Regions from separate parts of the Homo sapiens genome. Here all the other regions are linked to region 1. Evidence: promoter capture Hi-C in human tissues and cell types (Jung and others, 2019). All regions are on one chromosome and are shown on one strand. The core of a region is centred on a gene start or on the middle of the fragment in contact, and the rest is flanking DNA. Distances in the headings are between cores, read along the strand shown. Region 1 holds the start of RBM24 (RNA binding motif protein 24). Region 2 has its middle 42 kb from the start of RBM24. Region 3 has its middle 55 kb from the start of RBM24.

What was found. The method cuts DNA at HindIII sites, captures the fragments that hold promoters and counts their contacts. A contact is called where the count stands out against the background at its distance.
Region 2: a fragment that was not itself captured here is called in contact with the fragment with the promoter of RBM24 in region 1 in 1 of the 25 tissues and cell types used here (pancreas).
Region 3: a fragment that was not itself captured here is called in contact with the fragment with the promoter of RBM24 in region 1 in 2 of the 25 tissues and cell types used here (dorsolateral prefrontal cortex and liver).

What each region holds. Positions count from the first base shown.
Region 1 is chr6:17,279,886-17,282,777 of GRCh38, forward strand. RBM24 (RNA binding motif protein 24) reads left to right here and starts at 1,476. Exons shown (of 4, transcript NM_001143942.2): 1 at 1,476-1,864. The coding sequence starts at 1,697. The HindIII fragment of the contact is 10,579 bases long and covers 1-2,892 here.
Region 2 is chr6:17,321,998-17,324,977 of GRCh38, forward strand. No RefSeq gene overlaps it. Among named protein-coding and RNA genes, the nearest start is that of RBM24, 42 kb to the left of the region's middle. The HindIII fragment of the contact is 9,108 bases long and covers 1-2,980 here.
Region 3 is chr6:17,225,454-17,228,153 of GRCh38, forward strand. No RefSeq gene overlaps it. Among named protein-coding and RNA genes, the nearest start is that of RBM24, 55 kb to the right of the region's middle. The HindIII fragment of the contact is 4,463 bases long and covers 1-2,700 here.

The DNA of each region.
Region 1 (2,892 bases), core at 226-2,725:
CTCAAGTATGACTGATTGATTTTAAGGCCTAATTGAATGAATTCTCAATTAAAAGAAGTTGCAAAAAGCTGATGTAAAGTAATAAATATATATGGGGTGCCCTATGTTCTACAAATGCTTTCAGGTCTGCTGGTAGAAACCACTGGTTATGCAATAAGTTGATTTCAAAAATTATACCTTTTACATTTACATCCAGATAAAAACAGATGAGGTCAAGCCACTAAACATTCTTGTAATTCAAAGAGAAAGAAATAGATTAATTCTTTGTTTAGGGAAAAAAAAAAAAAAAGAACGACTTATGCTAAGACATCTGTACCAATCTTCCTGAATAACTAAGTTAGGGAGGAAAGACAAATTTGGTGACTGTGGGGGCTAAAATACTAACTTATGGTCCTCTGAAATAGAAGGCGGTGCCTGATGGACATAGGTATCTCCGGTTACTTGGTTTGGCTGGGCGGTAGCAATTAAAGCTAATGGTTTTCCCAACTACACCCAAGCGCTAGATCTTTCTTTTCCTTCTGGCTCTACCTCTCTGATACTTCCCCGCACTGGCTTTTTGGGGCCAAAGAAAGTTGGGGCCCTCCTTCTCACTCTTCAGACCCCAGGGTGTCCAGCTTGGGTTTCGTTCGGCCGAGCTCCTTGACCCCCCGCGCCCGGGAGGGGATTGGCCTCTCAGCGAATCGCCCCAGGCCTCTGGGGACCCCAGTTCGCCAGTCCAGGTCGCCGGCCCTGTCACCGAGGCCTAACCCAAAAAGCTCGCGTCGTCCCCTCTGGAAAGCAACGCAGCTTCCTCCTTGGGCACAGTCCCCGCACCCTGGGTCCCGGCTGGTGCTGCGCCGGGTCCCTAAGACTTTGACTGGTTAGAGCAGGCGACGCCGAGAGCCAGGCCGCCTACAGGCGTCTCCAGCCCTACCCCATCGCCGGCTACAGAGCGGGAGCCCCGAGCCCCAGCGCCGCGCCGCGCGGGGAGAGAAGCAGCTGTTCCCAACAGCTGGGGGGCGGCGGCGCCCGGCGCCCCAGGTGCTGCCGCGGCCAATCGCAGGCGTCCGGCCCGCCCCCCTCCCCAGCCGGGCGTCGACCCCCGGCCCGCGGGGGAAGGGAGCAGAGAGGTGGAGAGCTGTCCTCGGCACTCGTCTTCCAGATCCCACGGCGGGAGGGACAGACCAGAGCCGAAGCTGCGCGGAGTTCCTCGCCCCTGGCCCCGCCGCCGCGCCCCCCGCCCGCTTCGGCGCTCGGACGCTCTTCCCGCGGACCCTCCCCACACCCCACCCAAGGCACCTGATTCCTAAGGAAGAAAAATCTACCTCTAAAGCACCCGCTTCTTCGCTTGAGAACTACCCTCTCTTTTCATTTTTGGCCTCCCCGCCGGGTGAGTGGAAACCGCTTGCACATTCTATAGAACCCGATTCTAATCCAGACGATCCGGAGAATTTGTACGGTGACCGGCAGGGGGGGCGGGAGGAGAGAGCGAAGTCAAGTCTCCAGGGCCGCTGGCGACTTCGGAAGCCGCGCGCCCGGCGCTCTCGGCCGCCCCCGGCCGCTCGCCCCCGCCGCGCCGCCGCCCTCGCCCCCGGGCTCGCCCTTGGCCCCCGGCGGCCGCGAAAGGGTGCGGGAGACGCGGAGCCGGAGGAGGAGGCGCAGCCGCTGCCCGAGCCGCAGCCGCAGCCGGAGCCCGAGCCGCGGGGCGGGTGCGAAGATGCACACGACCCAGAAGGACACGACGTACACCAAGATCTTCGTCGGGGGGCTGCCCTACCACACCACCGACGCCAGCCTGCGCAAGTACTTCGAGGTCTTCGGCGAGATCGAGGAGGCGGTGGTCATCACCGACCGGCAGACGGGCAAGTCCCGGGGCTATGGATTTGTAAGTTGCACGGACTGGGGGTGACGGGGAGGGACGGAGTGGCGGCTGACCCCGGGGATCGGGAGCTTGGAGTGAGGGGCTCGGCGTGACCCGTGAGGAGCCCCGCGGGTAGAGCGGCGCTGCCCCTTCGCTCCGGGGTGAACTGAAACTTTGCTAGGGGAGAGGGTCGGCGCCAGCCTCGCGGGGTTCGGAGAAGACCCAGCGCTGTGCGAGGTCGGGGGCCGGGCAGGGCAGAGCAGGGGTGAAAGGAGAGACCTGTAATGACGGCGGGATTTGGGGTGCGGAGGGTTGCGAGGGAGGGGCCGCAACCCTGAACAATTGCATTCCCGGGCTGGATGCCGGTTGTTAAGCGCGCTGTTGCTTTGTAAAAATGCGTGTGTTCTGGTGTTTTGGCTGGGGCAGGGAGGGGACACCCCACGAGGTCTGGGGCTGTTGCCCTTGTGTCATCCCCCCGCCTTTTAACTGCAAAGGTAGGTTCTTTTAAATCATGATCCTAGGGCTCTTTGCCGAACTGAAACAGAGCATATTAAGCTTCCTTCCTAGAGATTTAAGCGTGCAAATTCAGCTGCCGAAGAGCAGGGAGCCCCAGAGTAGGACAATAGCTATTGTCGTTGGGGAGTGTTTTCGAGGTTGGGAGCGTTGGGCGGATGTAAGGCTGGACTTTCTTTAAAGCAAACGGTGCCTCTGAGGCTGAGTAGGGACCTGGGGGGCGGGGGATTCGGGGGAAGGAGGATCTAGAGTTCCAAGAATTTAGGCTTCCAAATCTCGGCTAGGCCCTACTAACACCCTTAAGATTTCGGCGGTGGGGTGGGGGGAGGCAGGGTTAGAGGGTTTCTTTCTTTTTTCCTTCGTCTACCCGCCCCCCCCCCCCACGCCCCCGCCCGCCTGTTAAAAATGGGAGATCAAGGAGGAGGGTCCAGCCAAAAGAAGCAAAGAATAGAAAAAAAGTTTGATCTCAGTTTTATCATGAATGACTTCTCCATTGTGATTCTTGATTTCCTTCATGGGTTAATTTAGAGGTTATGTAT
Region 2 (2,980 bases), core at 378-2,877, 42 kb after region 1:
TGGGATATGGAGGCACCACTGAACACCAAGGGATGGGGACACCTGTTGGGTAATTTGGGAGATGAAACTAGGCCCATTGTCTGATTATATGGAGAGAGGGAGACCAAATCTAGGGAAGATTTCTGATATGAGAATTTGAGAGACTTCTGCAGCTTTTTTTGAAGGGGTAGGAAATGCTTCTACCTAACCTGAAAAAGTGTCTACGGGGGTAAGAAGATATTTAGTTTTTTTTGATGGGAGGCATGTGGGTGAAGTTTACTTGCCAGTGCTCCCTGGGAGTGTTCCTCTGAGCTGGCGTGTAGGGATGAGGAGAGGGCAAAGAGCCCCTTGGGAGGAAGTAACGAGCATATACGACAGTTTGAGGTTATGTCCTTTAGTGAGGCGAATAGATTGGGGGACGAGAAACAAGGGCGAAGGAGTAGGTACTGCCGGCGTGCATCAATATGGAAGGATTGGTGAAGAGGTGTTAGAATTTCCTTGGTTTGCTCTTGGGGAAGAATGAGCTTTTGATCTTTTATTATCCAGTCCCCTTGAAGGGAGGTTCCTTGCTGTAGTAGCAAAGCCTTTTTGGTGGGAGGGTATCTGGGTGGGACTGCTGGGGTGACAAGGACGATGGGGGCAAGGAGAGGAGAAAGGGAGGCCGTTTTCCTGCCTCATCGGCCTTTTTATTTCCTCTTGAGATTTTATCTGATCCTGTTTGATGTTCTCAACAGCGTATGACTCCTGCTTCAGTTGGGAGGTGTGTGGCCTGAAAGAGTTGTTAAGTAAGGGGGCCATTAGTAATGGGGGTTCTTTTGGTGATAAGGAATCCTCTCTTGCCAGATGGTAGCATGGGAATGAAGAATGTGATAGGCATACTTGGAGTCTGTGTATGTGTTGACCCGTTTGTCTTTGGAGAGGGTTAGGGCTCTGGTGAGAGCTATGAGTTCTGCATTCTGGGAGGAGGTTCCTGGGGGTAGGGTTTAGCCTCAATTACATGGTTTAAGGTAACTACTACGTACCCAGCAATTTTGGGAGAGCCGGGGGCTCCAGAAGAGGAGCCATCTATGAATAGTGGCCATCTGGGTTAGTGAGAGGCTCGAAGGAGATGTTAGGGAAGTGTGGCTGCAGGTGATCCAGAATGTCAGTGCAAGAATGAGTAGGAGGGGAAGAGGATATGGGGAGTAGGGATGCTGGGTTGAGGGGGGTGCTTTTGGCAAGGCTGAATTTGGGATTTTCGATAAAGAGGGCATGCAGTAACTGAATTCGGGAAGGAGAGAGGGAGCTTAACGCCTGAGAGGAGAGGAGATCCTGTAAGTTGTGAGGGCTGTGGACGGTGGTGCTTTGGCCAAATGTTACTTTCCAGAGCCAAAACGGCCGCTGCTGCTAATGCTCTAAGACAGGTTGGCCACGCTCTGACAGTGTTGTTTAATTGTTTAGAGAGGTATGCCACAGGGGCAAAGGAAGGAGGATTTCCCTTTTGTTGCCCTAAGACCCTGAGAGCTATTCCTTGGTTTTCGGTGGTATAAAAAACGAAGGGTTGGAAGATGTCAGGTAAGGACAGGGCAGGTGCAGTGACGAGAGCAGTTTGGAGTTTACAGAAACCGGGAAGTATGTTGTGTGAGGGGCTTAGGGGTTCACTGAGGGGGCCTTTGGCTGCTTCGTAGAGGGGCCGAGCCAGGAGAGCAAAGTTGGGAATCCATATTCTAAAGAAACCTGCTAGTCCTAAGAAAGAGAGAATTTCATTTTTTGAGGAAGACGGAGGCAAGGTGTTTATTAAGGTTGCTCAGGCCGGCGTCATGGCTTGGGCACCAGGGGGAGAGTTGGCCTCCTAAGTATGTTACTGTTGGGGCGGATAGTTGGGCTTTGGAGGGGGAGACCCTATATTCTTTGCTAGCAAGAAAGTTTAGAAGGGTGATGGTGTGAGTTTGAGAGTCCTCTAGGGAGGGGCTGCAAAGAAGGAGATCGTCAATGTATTAGAGAAGGTGGCTGGGGGAACAGTTTAAGGAGGTGAGGTCTTGGGCTAGAGCTTGTCCAAAGAAGTGAGGGCTGTCTCTGAAGCCTTGAGGGAGGACAGTCCATGTGAGTTGTTGTGACTGAAAAGTGTCAGAATCAGTCCAGGTGAAGGCGAAGAGGTCTTGGGAATCAGAGTGTAAGGGAATGGTGTAAGGGAATGGTGTAAGAAAGCATCCTTTAGGTCGATTGCTGTATAGTGGGTGGTGTTGGAGGGGATGAGGGTGAGAAGTGTATAGGGGTTAGGGACCACAGGGTAAATAGGGAGGACAGCCTGAATGATGGCTCAGAGGTCCTGAACGAGTCGGTATGAGCCGTCAGATTTTCTAACGGGAAGGATGGGGGTGTTATATGGAGAATGTGTTGGTCTAAGAAGACCACATGAGTAGAGCTTGTTTATAACAGGTTGGAGGCCCTTTTGGTGGGTTAGGGAGACGGGGTATTGGGGAATGTTAGGAAATTTGAAGGGATCCTTTAACAGGATTTTGATGGGGTTATGGTGTGCAGCTTCGGAAGGGGTGGTGGTATCCTACACCACTGGGTTAACGAGGGAGGAGGGAAGCAGGTACTAGGGAGAAGGGTCAGGGGCTGGACTAGTGGAGAGGAGCAGAAGGGACTCTGGTTGAGAGAGGCAGGAAAAAGTGATGGAAGCTTTGAATTTAGTTAAAAGGTCTTGGCCTAGAATGGGGGTGGGACAACCAGGCATGGTAAGGAAGGAGTGTGTAAAAACAGTATTAAACTAGAAACAAGTAAGGGACTCAGTGGTGTGTGGATGTGAGATGAATCCATCAACCCCCACGACAGAGACCTGGGAGGGATGAGTGGGTCCTGAAAATTCAGGCAAAGCCAAGTAGGTGACCCCAGTATCGATTAAAAAGGAGACTGGCTTTTACCTGCTACTAGCAGAGTTACCTGCTACTAGCAGAGTTACCCTTGGCTCTGATGCAGTGATGGCAGATGGGGCCAGGGGCCCTGGGCTCCATCAGTC
Region 3 (2,700 bases), core at 14-2,513, 55 kb before region 1:
TTTTTCTTCTACCCTCCTATTTCTTTCACTGGTGTCCATTTGAGTTTGTGACTTTTGCCCTGGCCATAGACAGCATTAACAATGAAGCAGAGCAAACAGGTAAAGCTTTGGGCTATCCTACTACTTCTTTCAAAAGTTTTCCCCTGATTTTAACTCCTCTCCCTTCTCTTCAAATCCAGAAAGTTAGTGTTTTCTTACTGTCCCAAGTTTTCTTTGCCTGGAAGAAAGAAATGTGGTCATCCTATTCACACTAAATTGTTAGTGATTTAATATGTCCTTTTGGGGAAAAAATAGCCAGGATTTGCTAACCTTTCCAAATCGTAAAATTCCAGCTATTTTGGCATTTGGATGAGTGACACATTTTGGGGTGGTACACTTCTCTATGACCCTTCAAACCACAGCTTGTGGACAATTACTCCTTCTCCATTTTATGTCAGCCAGCAAAAATGTTTGCCAAAATGATCAGAACAGCTGTTCATTTTTGCTTGTCAGGGTAGTGGCTTGCCAGGGAATCCCTGTCCCAGTTGGGTTCTTCCTGGGAGAAATATTTACATAATTTGTTCCTATTCTGGGATGGGGTGCCCTGTGTGTTTTAGCCTACCAGAAGTTTACTATGTGCTAATGGTGTGGTGTGGCTATAAAAAAAAAAGGGGTGTGGCATGGGGAAAGAAAAGAAAATTTGAACATAAACTTAGCCAAATCCATAGATAGAAAAAGCACAGGAAGTTGTTTCACTGTGCTCTGAAATCTTAACTCACATCTGGGGATTTGTACAGATTATTCGGGGCATCCACATTTAGAGAAGAATGCTGACAAGTCAAGGGCATCCTGAGAGGGGAGAGGTGAAAACTAAACCAAGAGTAAGAGAAGACTAAAGAAGCACTTGGTGGCTGCTTGCAAAGGTTGGAAAGGCTGTCACCAAGAGGAGGAACCACATGGATTAGTTCTTTGTTGTGCCAAAGAACAAACTAAGACCAATGGATACGAGTTAAAGGATGAGAGTGGGAGGAGATTTTGGCTCAGGAAATAAATCTAACAGCTACTAGATAGAGATTGGAGAAAAATGACTTTCCCTTTCACTAAAAATATCCTGAGAGAGGCTGTTTGACCATCTGTTTGGAATGCTATAGAAAGAATCCTTACCCTGGTTGGTGGCCTGATTTGATTTTTGTTGGGACTCTTCAGAGCAAATTCTACGTTTGTATGAATTCTGCTTGCATATCCTAGAGAACATGTAAATCCACAAATGCAGAATAATGTCTCTACCTACTCCATTTGAACTTCAGTATCATCACTTAGGTGCAATTACATCAATGTTCTCTTTCAGACCTAGTATCTGTATTACTGAAGTCAGTGATTTCTGCAGTCTTCTCTTGATGCCCCTTGGGTGAGCATACTTTGTATTCTTTGTTGTCAGTAAGCATGTGAAATAGATTTTCACTCAGCAGGGTTTTTCCTAATTGCTCTTGCAAAGAAAATGATGTGGCCAATTGTTTATTCCATTGATAGCCTTTTTCTGTCCCCAGAATGTGGCCAACATATGTATGACTCACATTCACAGGACAGAAGGATTGTTCTGGCTTGTGCTTCTACTTCTTTTAGCCAATTGGAGAGTTATTTATAAACATTTATTGATTTGGATTCATAAACCAAAGTGAAAAAAAAAATCTTGCAGCACTGGTTGCTATGGTAACTAGCATTTCACACATGTATTCGCCAGCAGCGATGGCTCAGAACAGAAACCCAAAGCCTACCTGTAGCTTCTAACTGCATTTTCACTCCTATCGCATTTTTAACTGAAAATCGGTGACTTCCTCCATCAGTGTCAAGTGGGAGCATGGTATGGAGGCAGGAAAACAACAGCTTTTTTCATTTATTTTTGAGGTGATTTCTGTAGTTTTCTTGGGGTTATTTTCTAGACAGATGTGACTTCTAATCAATGTTGATTGTCAAGAATTAAAGAGATTCCATCGCAAGTTCAGCTCTCTGCCACGTGTTGACGGTGATATGGAAGAAACCTGGGTTCCATTCTTTATCTTCAAGGGAACTTATACTATAGCTAGAATCCAGGAGCACAAATATAAAGCAGCAGGCAGGCTACACAAGAAAAAAAATGTAGTTCAGTGCTAAAATACACAACATACATGATAATAGACGCAAAGCATGCTGGGAGGAGCACAGGTTGCAGAAAGAGACAGAACTACTTTGAACTGTGTGGCCTCCTGTAAATTACATCACTTTCTTGTAAATTTTTACATTTTTTATAACTCATTGAAATGAGAACCATATCAGCTCCTAGGGTACTCCTGTTTTGTTTTGTTTTGTTTTGTTTGTTCTGTTTTGTTTTGTTCTGTTTTGTTTTTTGAGACAGAGTTTTGCTCTTGTTGCCCAGGCTGGAATGCAATGGTGTAATCTCGGCTCACTGCAACCTCCGCCTCCCAGATTCAAGTGATTCTCCCGCCTCAGCCCCCCAAGTACCTGGGATTACAGGCATGTGCCACCACACCCAGCTAATTTTGTATTTTTAATAGAAATGGGGTTTCTCCACGTTTGTCAGGCTGGTCTCAAATTCCCGACCTCACGTGATCTGCCTGCCTCGGCATCCCAAAGTGCTGGGATTACAGGCGTGAGCTACCATGCCCGGCCCCTAGGGTAGTTGTAAGGATTAAATAAGATAATTATATAAAGTACCTAGAATAA